Regions from separate parts of the Homo sapiens genome. Here all the other regions are linked to region 2. The links are contacts of gene promoters, found by promoter capture Hi-C in blood cells and fetal thymus (Javierre and others, 2016). All regions are on one chromosome and are shown on one strand. Each heading gives the region's core, a stretch centred on a gene start or on the middle of the fragment in contact. The rest is flanking DNA. Distances are from core to core; before and after follow the strand shown.

Region 1 (3,892 bases), core at 240-2,739, 4.4 Mb after region 2:
CAATTTTAATCTCATTTCATTTTTCAACAAGGCCAACAAGCAACTTGTTTATAGCAAACCGTAAGTCAATCCGACATGTTAACTTTTTCAAAAGGTTTAATTATCTAAATAATGAATACAGCACGGAAAACTGGTCTCATCTCGGAATGTTTCTATTTCACGTGCAAGTACTGAGGTCGAAATGATTGAAAATGTCCTGGGGCTCTAGGGAGAAAGAAACTGAATCTAAATCTGCAACTGATTCTACTACATGAAGGAAAAGATTTAGCAATACCAACATGTACAAAAAGAATTCTCAAAGCAATTACATTACTTCTCTCTCCCCCATCACCCCTATTCCTTGCTAAATTTATTTCCAAACTGGTTTTCTCTCTACATCCTTTCCCCTCCCCTTCAAAGCTTCTACCTAAATCTCTCTCCTCCTTGCTATTTATATCTCTGAACTCCGCAACTATTTTAACTAACTCTACCAAACCCTTTTGGGAAAAGGACATCTGCAAAAAAGCTAACATGCTAAACGCAAAGTTTAAATTATTTTCATGCAACTTGCTGTACATGAAAGGCCTTGCACTCTTCGGCGGTAAAAGGGAAGAAACGGAAACGAAATGGTTCGAAACAAAAAATTTAGGCTTCCAGTCTCAAAAATATTGGCATCTACAGTGGGGAAAAAATACACATATGCCCCCACTGTATTTTAACTTATAAGGCGCTCTTCCTTCTCGAGGCAAAATAAATGTGTATATACACCCAAGAAGGCTTGCAGCAGGGGGAAAAATAGAAATTAAATGAAGACCTGCAGGAAAAAAAAATAAAGGCGGGGGGCAAGGTGGGGAGGTGGGAGAAGATCCACCAGGCTCCCGAGCGGGAGGGACAAATCTGCACGCACCCCCACCCCGCCCCACCCACGCCTCACCCCAAGCTCGCCGGCACACCCCACCCCCACCCCCGCCACGGCGCCAGCCCCGTTCTCCAAGCCCAGTGACTCTCACCGTGACCACTTGCCTCCCGGGAGCCCTCCCCGCCCCCACCCCACCCCTCTGGACCCTACTCCCTCAAACCCGAGGGGCGCCCTGTGGCTCTGCGCGAGGCGCGGGCGGTCGCTAGGGGGTGATGGAGGGAGGAATAAGGAAGCGGTGCCTTGTCAGGGGGCGAGGGGGATTTCTCCTTTACCTGCCATGTTGCGCTGCAAATGGTGACCCTGCTGGGTTCCTCGGGGTCTCCGCTTCCTGAACTCACCCCCCTCACCTGGGGATGGGGGGGTAGAGAGGGCGGATGGCGGCGGATGGCACCTGCGGGGGGAGGGGACGGGGGCCGGGGGGAAAAGGAAGGAGGGGCGGGCAGACCAGCCGGCAGGATGCTAGATTTCACTCTGGGGCTTCCCCGCTCGTGCTCTTTCTCCGGCAGCGGCGGCGGCGACTACGACAGCGACGGCGGCGGCGGCAGCGGCAGGGGCAGGCGACTCCACTTTCAAAATGGCGCCGGCTGGCCTGGCCAGTGACGTCACCTAGGGGGCGGAGCCGCCGGGCTGGGGCGGAGAGCGGAGGGGGAGGGGCGGGGGAGCGGCCGGGCGGCTCTTGGCCACGCCCCCTTCCTGCTGCGCCTGTGCCCCGCCCTCCGTGTCCCGGCCGGCAGGGCCTGCGCCGCGCCAGCGTCTCGCCATGGCATACCCTCTGTCCGCACCGCCTGCGCCAGGCCGCGGCTGTGTGCACCTAGCAGTGTCCCAGCCTCGAGCACTAGCGCCGGGGCTCTGGGGCGGGCTTAGGAGTCCAGTTTACGTGCTCTCCTGCAAGGATTCATGGGGTCCTATGTCTTCTAGGAATACCTGGGCCGGGCACGGTGGCTCATGCCTGTAATCCCAGCACTTTGGGAGGCTGAGGCGGGCGGATCACAAGGTCAGGAGTTCGAGACCAGCCTGGCCAACATGGTGAAACCCCGTCTCTACTTAAAAATATACAAAAATTAGCCAGGCGTGGTGGTGTGCGCCTGTAATCCTAGCTACTTGGGAGGCTGAGGTGTGAGAATTGCTTGAACCCGGGAGGCAGAGGTTGCAGTGAGCCGAGATCGCACCACTGCACTCCAGCCTGGGTGACAGAGCAAGACTCCGTCTCAAAAACAAAAAACAAACAAACAAAAAACCCCGTACTGCTTCTTAGGAAATTGTCACTTTGGATTAGCCCTGAGACCACAAAGAAAGGGACAGCGGTGCAGACTTACTGCTCAGCCGGGGTGAAAGTTCACGGGGTTCAGAGGGACACGATTGGGCTGGTTCTATCTGGGTGAATTAAATTACCTTCTCGTGGGCCCCAGGATCCAAGGCGGGAGTCCTAGGCACTGCGGACACTAAGAGTGATTTCTAAGAGAAACCTGAGTTTGTGATGAGAGGGTATGGCCCAAGAAGTGACCCGGCGTCTCTCCAGCTAAACGTGTTGGACTGCGTGCTTAAGAGCTGGGCTCAGGGCCGGGCGCGGTGGCTCACGCCTGTAGTCCCAGCACTTTGGGAAGCCGAGGTGGGAGGATCGCTTGAGGCCAGGAGTTCCGAGTTCGGCCTGGAGAACATAGGGAGACCCATCTCTCCAAAAAAAATTTTTTTTTTTAAATTAGCCAGGTATGATGGCGTGCCTATAGTCCCAGCTACTAGAAGGCTGCAGTAGGAGGACTGCTTGAGCCCAGTAGGTCAAGGCTGCAGTGAGCTATGTGATCACATCACTGCACTCCAGCCTGGGAGACAGAATGCGATCCTGTCAAAACAAAAACAAAAACACAAAAAGTGCTGGGCTCTGAAGCCAGGCTGCCTAATATGATTCCAAGGCTCAGGAGATGAAGATGACAGTCCTACCTGATAGGATTGTTGGGGAGATGAAATGACTTAATTTGAGCACATGATAAATGTTAGCTGCCGTTATTATTAGATTTGTATTGAAAGCATCGTCAGTAAGGTTAAGAGGTAGAAGGAAAAAAATGAACAGGAAATGCCAGTCATCAGCTATGAGGGGATGTGCACTTCTGTTGAAAGATGCTCTAATGATGCAGTTGCTATATACAGCACACTTTACATATCCCATTCCATCTCCACGATACTCCTAGGAGATAGATATGCACATTTTACACGTGAAAAACACCTGTAAAAGCATCCAGAATTTGGCCTAAGGCTGAATGGAGTGATAAAGGCGTTTGGAAACCAAGAAGGGGGAGTTAAAGATATTTACACGTCCTCCCCACCATCTCCACTTTCTACCATATTTTTGATTTCCAGGACAGTTGAACTGTAATGCAACGTTCAAAATTCCTTCAAAGGAACAACTGCACCACTGCATGATCATTCCTCTGTTTCTGCATGAATATTTCCCACGTTACCAATGAATTAATCAAAACTAAAAATCCACCCTCTATGTGTCATCTTTTGGCTACCTGTACAACAGGTACAAAACTTCAGTGCACTGCGTGCTGTATTTTCTTCAATGCTGGTGTTTTTCATAAATGTATTTCTCTGGGTATGCCTTCATTTATTTTCCTTTTTGCTTGCTCTGCCCTTCTTTGGTGGTTCAATCCCAGACTCTCCAGGGAGAGCTCTCCATCTTAACCAGAACCCAGAAGGAAGGAGAGAGAGAGAAAGGAAGACAGAAAAAGAGAATATAGACTTTACATACCCTGAAAATGATTTGGTTTACATAAATGATTTGTTCTTAGAAGCCAATAAAGCTTGCCTAGAAACTGGGATAATTATAACAAAAATGTATATAGCACCGACTTTGTGCCAGGTGCTGTTTTAAGAACATTATTTGGAGCCTTGGGGGTACTGCATGCCTGTGGAATGGGCTGACTTGGGTCTGATAATCAAGGGCCAGTGCACCCTGGCACCCTGGTGTAAACGACCTGGCTCTTTTTGGGCCCT
Region 2 (3,730 bases), core at 620-3,119:
AGTGGAGGAAAAAAGGGATGCTTCTGATGTGTTCTGATTTAGGGATGTTGGCAGGGGAAGCTGGAAGTTGTCTAACTTGAAGCAGGAAACTTAACAGGATTGGTTTGGGAAGAATATTTGGCTTTCTCTGGCTGATACTGGTGTCTGAGGACAGAGAGGTTAAAATAGAAAAGTTGGCAGCCTTCTTGAGAAAATTCTGACCATTTTGAGCTGATTGCTGTAGAGGTTATGGTTTGGCTTATGTGAGTTAGAGTGTTATTATCATATGCGGTTTAGCCATTGTCCATATGTATAAGTCTCTCACTCATTAATAAGGGAGCCAGCAGAATCATAAAACGGATTTCTACCAGTTCTGAAAAATGATATTTATATAATCGTTGGGGAAAGGAATGCTGAAATAAAACTGCTCAGTTGATACAAAACCGGTTAATTTTTCTCAGAAAAATGCAACCTTAACCTTTGGAATTTTATCTATCTATCTATCTATCTATCTATCTATCTATCTATCTATCTATCTATATACACACTGAATTCCCTGCCCCTTTTTCCCCTAACACCTCATCAGTTTCCTACCAATTGATGTTTGATTTCATCCTTTTGTAAATCTTCTGGGCCCTAATCAATTGTTATTCAAACAAAGTTACATTTCCTGTGGGTGTCAGATGATCAAGTAGGCTTATTACAAAATTCTCTAGAATGAAACTAATAAAAGTCACAAAATATTATCTTTTGACTTTTTTCCAAGTTTTGAATAAAATTTTAGGTATTTTCTCACTTAATTTTCACCACAGTCCAATGCAAGTAACTCATTGTAGTAGTACAATGATTATCCCCATTTCCCCGATGAGAAAACTGAGCCACAGTTTCAGTAACTTGAAGAGTAACCAGTAATTCAACGACAGCCACAGAATGGCTGAGCACTGGCTGTACTGCCGCTTTAGGTTATAAGAGTGAGGGAAGGCCTGCCACGCTGCAGGTTTCGGGCAATGAAATTATTTTTTCCACTGCTTTATTTCCACCCATTTATCTGGCTTCTAAATCCAAAATCCTTTTCTAAGACAGTTCACAGGGGTGGAGGGAAGAGGCTGGGCTGTGCTCCACATCAGGCTGCCTTTGCTAGCTGTGTTGTCTTGAGCAAGTCATTTATTAATTAGCTTCCTGGCCCTCTGTTCTTCGCTTGTAAAAGAGCTGGAACCGCGTTCTCGGTGTGCAGGTGCTGGTGTGTGGCGCTGGGGTAAACTCACAAAATAACCGTTGAGGCCGGGCGCGGTGGCTCACGCCTGTAATCCCAGCACTTTGGGAAGACGAGGCGGGCAAATCGCTTGAATTCAGGAGTTCGAGACCAGCCTGGGCAACATTGTGAGACCCTATTAATACAAACAACAACAACAATAATAACCAAAAATAGTCCGTCGTGGTGGCACTCGCCTGTGATCCCAGCTACTCCGGAGGCTGAGGTGGGAGAATGGCTTGAGCCCAGGAGCGGAGGTTGCAGTGAGCCGAGATCGCGCCACTGCCCTCCAGCCTGGGTGACCGAGTGAGATCACGTCTCTAATAAGAAAAAGACAAAAAACACAAAGTAACCATTGAAAGATAGCGTCGTCGGCTGGGTTCACCACATCCCAGCGCACGCCGGAGCAGGCTGTAGCAGTTTTAATAAAGTGTCTATAAAGAAAGCTGCCTTCCATCTTCAGTGGCGCCGCCTCCCACTTCAGTCCCCTTCTCGGCCCCACCCCAGCCCTTCCCTCGTTGTCATGGAGGCCCCAGGACGCCAGAGCGGGATAGTTCCGCTCCCGCGGCACCAGAGGCGGGGCACGCAATGACGCATGCGCTCGCTTGGCTGCCCTGGCGCCGCGGTGGCTGCCGGGACTGAGCTCCTAGCACCCGATCGGGAAGTGGCGGGCGGAGTCCCGGGTCCAGTCGCCGCCTCAGCTACCGCCGCTGCCGCCGCCGCCGCCGCCACCGCCAGTGGTGAGACCCCGACCTGGCGGGTCAGCGCTGGGCGTGCGTGCGGGCAGGCGGGGGCGCTGACGAGAAGCAGGAAGAGGGTGCAGTGCCGGCGTGGGCGGCCGGCCGAGGCGGAGGCGCAGGAAGGGGGCGGCGAGTCGTGCGAGGCTGCCCTTCTCACTCAGGTAGGGGCTGCGGCCGCCGGGTGTGGGGCGCAGAGCCCCGGCTTGCTGTTCCCTGGGACGCAGGCGCGCCGCCGCCTCCCGGGAGGCTGAGCGTGACCTCCACCTCACGGGAAGCTGGGACCGCCGTTCTCGAAGCGAAACACCCAGCACGCGAACCGTTCCCCGGAGCATTGTCTTTAGGCCAGAGGTTCATTGAGCAAACTTTTGGGTTGGAAAGAGGGAAAATTCGCGGTCTGCCGCCTGACTGTGCCTCTTCCAAGCCTCCAAGTTCACGGGCGCGGTAGCCAAGCGAACCGTGTGTGGAGTTTGAGCAGCCGCGGGGTCCAGCCAGCTCAAGACTGTGATTTAAAATGATGCTCATACGCGGACTGCTTTCTAGGCTACCTTTTGGAGATTTGGTTTGTGATGATCCCTAAACTTTAACGATAGTAGTTGATTTCTGCAGTCTAAACAACGCTGCGGCCCCCTTTTCGCCCACCTCCCCACTTCCGTCATTTAAGGGCGAAGCAGCCTGCTTTTCATAGCCGGGTCCTGAGGTGCCAGGGACACTAACGAGGCTGGGTAAAAGTGAAAGAGAGGGGAAGTAGTAAGGTTGAAAGAGGTCGAATGGTGGCAAGAATCGTGGGCTTGGAGGCAGATTTCAGTTTAATTTTTGGGTTTTCCGTGTCTGCCCACGGAGGAACCAGCCAACTCCTTGAGTTGTGGTTTTGTTTAATTGTAAAATGGACATGGTGATGTAGCCTGTTTACTCCATAGGGGGGTCCAGAGATCTAAAACTTAGTACACATATTGGGTAGTCTTTGAAAAAGGAGGAAAAGTTAGGCGGAGCACGTGATGGTGAAAGACAGACATTGCGAAGCTTTCTGCTCTAGATGCCTTTGAACGTTCCCGAACCTCACAGGTGGCCTTTGTTTTAAAGGCCTTTACCAGCGTTCCAGGTCTGGTGTAAGGAGCACTTGAGTTAGGAGTCAGGAGGTTTGGTTCCTGGCCCTGGCTCTTCCATCTGTGCGACCTTAACCAGACAGCTTCACTTCAGATTTCACGTATTAAAATAGGAATAACACTAATACCTGTTTGCTCCTAGAGTTGCGAGGGTCAAATACTGTAAGCATTTAGTTTGTTGTAAACTGTACGGCTTTATTTACTTTTTTTTTTTTTTTTTTCTGAGACGGAGTCTCGCACTGTCGCCCGGGCTGGAGTGCAGTGGCGCGATCTTGGCTTACTGCAAGCTCCACGTCCCTGGTTCAAGCGATTCTCCTGCCTCAGCCTCCCAAGTAGTTGGGATTACAGGCACCCGCAACGACACCCTGCACATTTTTTAAATTTTTAATGGAGACGGAGTTTCACCATGTTGGCCAGACTCGTCTAGAACTCCTGACCTCGTGATCCGCCCTCCTCGGCCTCCCAAAGTGCTGGGATTACAGGCGTGAGCCGCTGCGCCCGGCCTATTTAAATCTTTTAGAGTAATTTTTTTAAAGTCCAGATTGAGGTCCTGCCTTTGCAACGTGAAATAAGACACAAATGTTTCCTGTTCTAGAAATTTACTTTTTGCTCCCACCTTCTCACTTGACAATTCTCCTTTCTTCTTCTTGGCCCCA
Region 3 (3,859 bases), core at 791-3,290, 4.3 Mb after region 2:
CAATAAATTTTGTTTTAGAAAATGTACCCAAGCAGCTTGGTGTGGCCATCCCTCTAAACTCCCAGCAGAAGTGTTAGAGAGTTCCAGGGATGAACAAGGAGTTCCATCAGTAAGTTGAAGTAAAATCATCAAAACTGGCTCAAACTCTAAAATGCACTCTAAATGTGGCGATGGCTACACCAGTTCCAGAGTGAACTGAACATCACCCTCACAAGAAGGAAAGCTCCAAGGCAGACCTAGCTGGGAATCTGACCCCATCACTTCCTGTCTACCTGTGTGACCTGAGCTTCAGCTTCCTCATTTGTAAACAGAGATAATAATAACACCGGGGTGCTGTGACGATTTAGTAGTATCAAGTGCTGGTAAATAGAAGATGCTCAGTTATACACTAGAATTTTCTTTTATAAATACTTAGAACCCTTTCCTTTCCATTTGAGGCAGCCCCAGTGGCTACCACCATCCCATAGTCACCACCAATTCCTTAGGACTCTGCTGCCAAACGACACAGTTGTACAACATCTCCATGGCCTCATTCTATACACACATAAAATGGACACAGGCTAGAGAACTCAAAATGGATTAACAAATACAACTAGCAAAGCTAAGAGAGATCTAACATTGAAGATAATTTATCTCGAGTGCCTCTGGAGTGTATAAGAAATACGCCAAAAGCATCCCTAAATTTAGAGCTCTGCAACATATTTCAACTGGAGAGAAAGGGGGTGGGGGAGAGAATATGTATATAAAAACAGTTTTTTTTTCTGACTCTCACTGTTTCTAGGATTTTCAAACTTATTTTTAAACCAATGGGACCAGTTCTTCTTGTATAGAAGCCTAATGTGTACAATAGTAACAAACCAAAACCCAGAGCTGCTCTGACAGAAGCAGAGGTAAGGAACCAGGAGTTCCAGATAGGTCTCTGTGGAAGTCAGTCTTCCCTAAAATACAATTAATATTCACTTGAAGTAGGCAATCGAAGAGAAAAAAGGGTGTAACAAACAATATCAGGTTTTCTGGTCCTTACTTTTGTTTTTCTTTTGAGACAGTCTTGCATTGTCACCCAGGCTGTAGTACAGTGGCACAATCACAGCTCACTGCGGCCTTGATTCCTGGGCCCAAGCAATCCTCCCACCTCAGCCTCCCAAGAAGCTGGGACTACAGGGCACATGCCACCATGCCCGACTTATTTATTTATTTATTTATTTATTTATTTATTTAGTAGAGACAGGGTCTCCCTACATTGCCCAGGTTGGTCTCAAACTCCTGGGCTTCAGCAATCCTCCCACCTCAGCCTCCCAAAGTGCTGGGCTTACAGGTATGAGCCACTGCTCCCAACCTGGTTTTTACTTTTTTGAAGGACTTTCAAATCAATGTCTGGATCCTATTTTCTTCATTAAAAACACATAAGCAATCATAATCCAATATATACTTTTGGAACCTGAAAGAGACATACCTAGAAAAGCTTAGTAAAAGTGATCTCTGCTGTGGCCTCCACACCCTGAATCATAACTGAAAGCATTTCTACTTAAGGCGGACAATTTGTACTTGGGATACACTGGTATAGTGTGGTCAGGGGCTGAGACTGAAGCCAGGCTCCCACTCTCAGTTATAGCTGTTACCCTCGCACAGGGTACTTAACCTCTTTGTGCCTCAGTTTTCTCATCTATAAAATAGAGATAATAACTGTATCTACCTCGAAGACTTTGTTAGGAGGATTAAATGAATATAGCACGCAGAACAATAAGAAAGGTCCCTAAGAAAGTTTTAGCTACTACAATTATATTCTATATCATAGAAAAACCATTCCTTACTGGAAAAATGTGTTCCTAGAAAACGTAAACATCAGTACATAAAATTAAAAATTAACATCTCTCCCAACCTCCCGTTCCTACTCCCAAAGGAGCCACTTTTGACAGTTTCACATGGAGACTTGCAGAGTTTTTGTCAATGAAATATAGGTCTGTTTTTGCTTTTGTTTTTATAAAGAAATGGAACTGTACCATACACACATACTGACATATTCTGTAAGTCGTTTTTCAGATGTCTTCCCTATCAATATATACTGACATTCATTCTTTTGAACAACTGCATTGCATCTCATCTTTTATAAAGATATACCATACTTTAACCATTATCTAAATGGCAATGGTTAACTACTACTGAGATGGTTGTTTCTAATACTTTGTTATTACAATTAGGGCTTCAGTGAACATTCTGGAGAATAATTTGACAATAGGTATTAACAGCCTTAAAAGTGTAGATTTCCTTTAATTAATTAAGGGTAATTCTCTTTCAAAAATATCATCTATGGAAATACATAGTGGTACAGAGAAAGTTATGTACACAGGCATTAAGAGGCTACATATTAATCTTTTGAGTAACACATAAAAAAGCAAATGTGTCTTCCTCAATAGATGAACAACACGTCTGTTTCCCATCACCCGATTTGTTCCTGATTTACAGCCTCAGAATTTCTTAGTGTTCTAACTCTACCAATCCTCACAAAGTCCCTTTTTACTTGGAAAGGAAACAAGGCTAGATAAGAGGTTTGTGCTGTCCAAGCAACACAAAGTAGAAAACAACCACAGAGTGAATTCTCCTCCTAATGATCAAGCTTGAAAACTAAAAGCTGGAAGCTTTCTCCATTATCTAAAAGACTTTACAAACTAAGAGCTGTTCCTTATGCCAATTTGTACATAACATACAATGACATGAGATATTTTCTGGTTTGGGTTTTTGGGAATGACTAAGAGATTCAGAGAAACTTCTGTGAATGCTTCTCCGTTCTCTAACATAATAGACTGTGAAGGGTGGTCCAATAATTGTGATTATACTCATTGCCGTATGTTGTATAATCTTTACAGTTTTATAATCACTAGTTCAATCCTCTTGCAAGAAGAAGAAGAGAGGAGCTTTGGGACAAGGGGAGGAGAGAATGAAGAGTATTTCTCCTCATCTTTCCCCCTAACTTTTCAAGGCCCACATGTAACTCTTTTGAAATTTCATTATATTTACATTCTTTCCTCAAAGCTTTTCATTCATTATTGAAAGGAATCCAGACCAGGCCAACCTGATGCTGAAATCCAGACCAGGCCAACAAGAGTTACTGGCATTCTTCTTAAATAAAAAAATAAATAAATAAATTTTTGAAAAGTTGGTCTTTTTGCAGCAGTATGTATTTACATACAAGTTACGTAGGTATTCAAAACATTATTATGAGGCAGTGACAATCCATGAAGGCCTTAAGAGCACTCTTCATAACAAGAAAGCAAGGACATTGTGCTTGAAGATGTTTCTATTTAAAAAAAAGAGTTTGTGACCAGCTTGGGCAACAAAGCAAAACTCCATCTCTACAAAAAATAAGTTAGCCGGTGACCAGCCTGGGTGACAAAGTGAAACTCGAACTCTACAAGAAATAAAATAATTAGCTGGATGTGGGGGTGCACACCTGCAGTCCTAGCTACTTGGGAGGCTGAGGCAGGAGGATCACTTGAGCCCAGGAGGTCTAAGCTGCCATGAGCTATGACTGTACCACTGCACTCCAGTTTGGGTGACAAAGCAAGACCCTGTCTCAACAAAACAAAAAACAAAAAAGAACAAGAAAATTTGAAAAGAAAAAAAAGGCTATACTTCTCAACAACAAGAATTATACTACGATTTACACTACTACTTTGATTTTCCTTATTCGGCCCTATTGAATCTTATTCAAACATTCTTAAGGAAGTTGATAGTTTTCTTAACAATAAAACAAACTGGACAACATCCTTTTGACTTGGAAGGAGTTTGGGTATTTGCCCTGTAATTTTTAATGAAAGTGAACAGTCTCTCCACAGCGGTAAAGTTAAAAAAAAATCACAAA
Region 4 (4,380 bases), core at 1,346-3,845, 3.3 Mb after region 2:
CTTGATGTTAATTGATATTAAAGCAGGTGCCAGGCATAGGCAATTTCCCAAACAGATAAAAACACTTGAGATTGGTAATCAGCTTCCAATAAAATTTCAGAAATTGGGTGAGTGAGCTTGGGCATGCACATTAAGAGACAAAATAGTGGAGTATGACCTTCCGGGGGCATTCCACTGGAAAAGGGAAGAAAGCCTCAGATGGGCATGTGTACAAATTCCTAAGCACATGGTGCATGCTCACCTCCCAAGCATAGGGAGGGCACTGTGCATTCGGGCAGCTCACACTGAGGGAAGAATGAAGGGAGAGGGCAGCAAGACTCCAGAAGTGGGCCAGCATATGAAGTCCCAGGATCAGGGTTAAATGCCACACTTGTCCCTCAAGTTGCCCGCTTGGGTCTCTTCCAAGTGTACTTTCTTTTCTGTCCCAAACTTTTTAATAAACTTCCACTCTTGCTCTGAAACTTGCCTCAGTTGCTTTTTCTGCCTTATGCCCTGTATTAGTCCATTTTCACATTGCTATAAAGAACTGCCTTAGACTGACTGGGTAATTTATAAAGGAAAGAGGTTTAATTGACTCACAGTTCCGCATGGCTGGCGAGGCCTCAGAAAACTTACAATCACAGTGGAAGGTGAAGGTGAAGCAAGACACCTCCTTTGCAAGGCTGCAGGAAGGAGAATGAACACAGGAGGAATTACCAAACACTTATAAAACCATCAGATCTCGTGAGAACTCACTCACTATCAGGAGAACAGCATGGGGGGAAAACCACCCCTGTGATTCAATTACCTCCACCTGGTCTCTCCCTTGACACGTGGGAATTATGGGGATTACAATTCAAGATGAGATTTGGGGTGGGGACACAGCCAAACCATATCATGCCCCTCAGTCTAATTCTTTCTTCCAAGGAGGCAAGAATTGAGGTTGCTGCAGACCCATACAGATTCACTGCTGTTAACTCAGACACCTTCTACCCCTAACAGGTATGGGGTAGGACCCTCTCTGGAATCGGGCTCTTATGGCCTACAGTCAAACAAGGTAGGTCAGATAATTTCTTTATGGCCAGTTATTCCACAGAAAGGCAGAGAGAAAGAGTAATATTTTAAGGTTTCAAGACTGGCTTTAGGAAAAAGGGGTTCTGGTTTCTATGACCTGCCTTGGGGAAAAGGAATTCTAATTTCTATGGCTATCCTTGGGGGACTGAGAGATAGGAGGGCAGAGAAAAATTTCTGCTTTTGAGGCCATTTTGGGGTATTGTTTTCTGAGTTTCAACACTAACAAGTTTGCATGCCAAAATTTCATGAATACTGCTAAAAGATGAAACTCCTGGGTCAGAGACAAAGGATAATACTAACAGCAATAATAGTAGTCACAGTATTGTCATTGGGCCAGTTTCTGAGCCCTAATTCTTGCAAGACTATGTGATGAAGGCTACAGTAGGTTGCATTACAGGAGAGGGGCCCCAAGTTTAGGAAACTCACATCTCTTATAATTGGGAATAAGTCTGCCAGATCTTTGGAGAGACAAGAATTCTGTCTTCCAGGGCTATTCAATGCAGAAACATCCTTGAAAAGATAGTTGGAAAAAGGCAGTCAGTGCCTCTGCTCTCTCAAGACATGCAGGAACATGACACATGTGAATTGTCTCCCAATAGAAAAGGAATGAAAGTGCATCGTGTGAAAAGTATTCTGCATCTGGAGGCTGTAAAGTGATCAAACTGAAGCAGGAATGAAGATCTGAAGGAACCATCCAGGCCTACTGTACCTGGCAAGAATTGAGCATGAACTCTAGTTATCTCAGCTAAACTTTGCAGAAGTCCTCAATTTCACTGTTTTAATGGGCACTTGCCCATTAAAACAGTGGTTGTCATGAGCACTTTCCACATTTATTTCACTTTATCCTCACACTTCATGGAAACAGAGCTATTACAGCCATTGTACTCATGAGTAAATGGACTTTGAAACATGATGACCTGTTCACTTTTTCAACCACAGGACAAGAATCAGGTTTTCTCGGAGCTCTTCTGCCGCCACCCCTCTCTTGTTTCTCCTTACCGCGGCGGGCCAGAAGAAGACTGGCCAAAATAAGTAAACGACTAATGCAAGAGTGGCATAGGTCCTCAAAAAGGCGCTGCAAACTTAAGTGGTGATTGCACTCACGGTGCTTTAAGACCCAGCCACTACTTCGGAAGCAGGAAGTTGGCATCTCTGGTTTCTCCCATCCGCGGGCCTGAGGTTCCCGGGGATTGGTTAAGGTAGAGGCTCCTTTTCCCATTTGCAGCCGGAAGTAGGTTTCCAGTAACACGGAAGCCCTACTACGCCGCCTGGGAGACCCTTCCGTGCTACCCCGGCCAGGGACCCGCCCGGACCTGAGGAGGCGGGAACTGCGGGCAGAAGGCCCACCCCGCTCTCCCAAGATTTCCCGCGCACACCGGAAGTGGGTGGGGCTCCTCCGAGCGCCCCCTCCCTCCCCCTCGCCATCCCCCCCGCACGATTGGCCAGCGCCGCTGTCTCTCAGCGTTCCAGGGGAAGGGACTGGGCGATTCCCAGCACTCGGGTCGCGGGCGTTGGCAGCCGGGCGGGTGGGAGGGGCCGGAGCAAAAGTTCCGGGCGCCCGAGCCGGCTGCTCGTGCCATGGAGCGGAGTCCCGACGTGTCCCCCGGGCCTTCCCGCTCCTTCAAGGAGGAGTTGCTCTGCGCCGTCTGCTACGACCCCTTCCGCGACGCAGTCACTCTGCGCTGCGGCCACAACTTCTGCCGCGGGTGCGTGAGCCGCTGCTGGGAGGTGCAGGTGTCGCCCACCTGCCCAGTGTGCAAAGACCGCGCGTCACCCGCCGACCTGCGCACCAACCACACCCTCAACAACCTGGTGGAGAAGCTGCTGCGCGAGGAGGCCGAGGGCGCGCGCTGGACCAGCTACCGCTTCTCGCGTGTCTGCCGCCTGCACCGCGGACAGCTCAGCCTCTTCTGCCTCGAGGACAAGGAGCTGCTGTGCTGCTCCTGCCAGGCCGACCCCCGACACCAGGGGCACCGCGTGCAGCCGGTGAAGGACACTGCCCACGACTTTCGGGTAAGAGCAGCGATTTGCACGAGGCGGCCGAGCCGGGTCTGGAACCCGGAATCCCTTGGCTCTGCGGCTCCCGCCCCTCCTGCCTGCCAGAGCCCAGTGTGCCCGCGTCTCGCTCCCAGCATGCAGGACCCCACCTCTCCGACCCAGGTTCTCAGGGCTGGCTGCTTCTTCAAGGTCGGCCCAGGGGCCCGTGCTGGGAGAAGAGAATGCGAACGGAAAGTGACAGATGAGGTTACATGATGTTCCCAAGACAGCGACACTTGCTTCTGAAGGGCCCAGGCCATGCACCCCTTGTGCCAGCCGGGTGTGGCCCAGGTCCCTTTAAGCGGCACGGATGTGGGTGCAGCCCACGAGCCCTGTAGCTTGGCACACTCAATTTAGAAGTGGAGGAGGAGCCACAGACCTGGCCAGGGGTGTGGAGTCTTAAGATTTCCCCCAAACCAGTCACCTACTTGCCAAGCTGATCCCGCGGTTTGTATTATCTGAGTGAGAGGTCTCTGACCCTGGCTGGCTGGCCTATTCTGGTTTATAAAGCAGCATCTCCATATCTAGAGTTCTAGTGACTATACATAAACCCAGGAGCAACTTACAGGGCAAAACTAACATGGAGAATTCTTTGATATAGGAAGGAAAAATGAATAGAAGATAAGGGTTAGCCTAACTCAGCATTTTCCAAAACGTTTAATCTTAGCCCATAGGAAGCAATGCATTTTCCCTTGTGACCCAGAACATATGTATCAGTTGAAACAAAAGTTTTCTGAACATGTCCATGGCACTCTGATATTTTCTGTTACTTCCCTTTGTTTTTTTTTTTTTTTGAGACCTCTATCGCCCAGGTTAGAGTGCAGTGGCGTGCTCTTAGCTCACTGCAACCTCCGCCTCCTGGGTTCAAGCGATTCTGGTGCCTCAGCCTCCCGAGTAGCTGAGATTACAGGCATGTACCAACACGCCTGGCTAATTTTTTTTTTTTTTTAATTTCTAGTAGAGGCAGGGTTTCACCATGTTGGCCAGGCTGGTCTGGAACTCCTGGCCTCAAGTGATCTGCCCTCCTCTGCCTCCCAAACTACTGGGATTACAGGCGTGAGCCACTCCGCCTGGCCTCTGTTACTTTTAAAAATTACCCAGAATGTGAAACATTGAATTTATTTCATCACCTGCTAATGCATGAGTCAGAGCCCCAATTGGGAGAACACTGGGTAGCTGGCCCGAAGCTGCATGGACTGGAGAGGAGGAGCTGCCCGAGTCCCCTGTGCCTGGTTTCTGGCCCCCTCTGTGGCCCTGCCTTCTTTTTTTGCAATACCTTTTTAAATACGG

The links. Contacts are between HindIII fragments. The CHiCAGO score rates a contact against its expected background, and 5 or more counts as called.
Region 1: a contact is called between the fragment with the promoter of PPP2R2A here and the fragment with the promoter of GTF2E2 in region 2, in 2 of 17 cell types (activated CD4 T cells and total B cells). The highest score is 5.5, in activated CD4 T cells.
Region 3: a contact is called between a fragment that was not itself captured here and the fragment with the promoter of GTF2E2 in region 2, in 1 of 17 cell types (total CD8 T cells). The highest score is 5.1, in total CD8 T cells.
Region 4: a contact is called between the fragment with the promoter of TRIM35 here and the fragment with the promoter of GTF2E2 in region 2, in 1 of 17 cell types (activated CD4 T cells). The highest score is 5.3, in activated CD4 T cells.

The regions. Positions count from the first base shown.
Region 1 is chr8:26,289,105-26,292,996 of GRCh38, reverse strand. PPP2R2A (protein phosphatase 2 regulatory subunit Balpha) reads right to left here and starts at 1,489. Exons shown (of 10, transcript NM_002717.4): 1 at 1,171-1,489. The coding sequence starts at 1,177. RefSeq lists a silencer at 1,338-1,687. The HindIII fragment of the contact is 3,300 bases long and covers 402-3,701 here.
Region 2 is chr8:30,656,375-30,660,104 of GRCh38, reverse strand. GTF2E2 (general transcription factor IIE subunit 2) reads left to right here and starts at 1,869. Exons shown (of 8, transcript NM_002095.6): 1 at 1,869-2,132. RefSeq lists enhancers at 1,326-1,997, 2,669-3,340 and silencers at 1,775-2,184, 2,195-2,284. The HindIII fragment of the contact is 11,766 bases long and covers 1-2,993 here.
Region 3 is chr8:26,386,167-26,390,025 of GRCh38, reverse strand. The region is part of intron 1 of BNIP3L (BCL2 interacting protein 3 like); the gene reads right to left. Among named protein-coding and RNA genes, the nearest start is that of BNIP3L, 5.0 kb to the right of the region's middle. The HindIII fragment of the contact is 1,152 bases long and covers 1,465-2,616 here.
Region 4 is chr8:27,309,487-27,313,866 of GRCh38, reverse strand. TRIM35 (tripartite motif containing 35) reads left to right here and starts at 2,595. Exons shown (of 6, transcript NM_171982.5): 1 at 2,595-3,066. The coding sequence starts at 2,632. It also overlaps a transcript of PTK2B not described here. RefSeq lists a silencer at 2,377-2,586 and enhancers at 2,737-2,886, 2,897-3,116, 3,517-3,626. The HindIII fragment of the contact is 14,003 bases long and covers 1-4,380 here.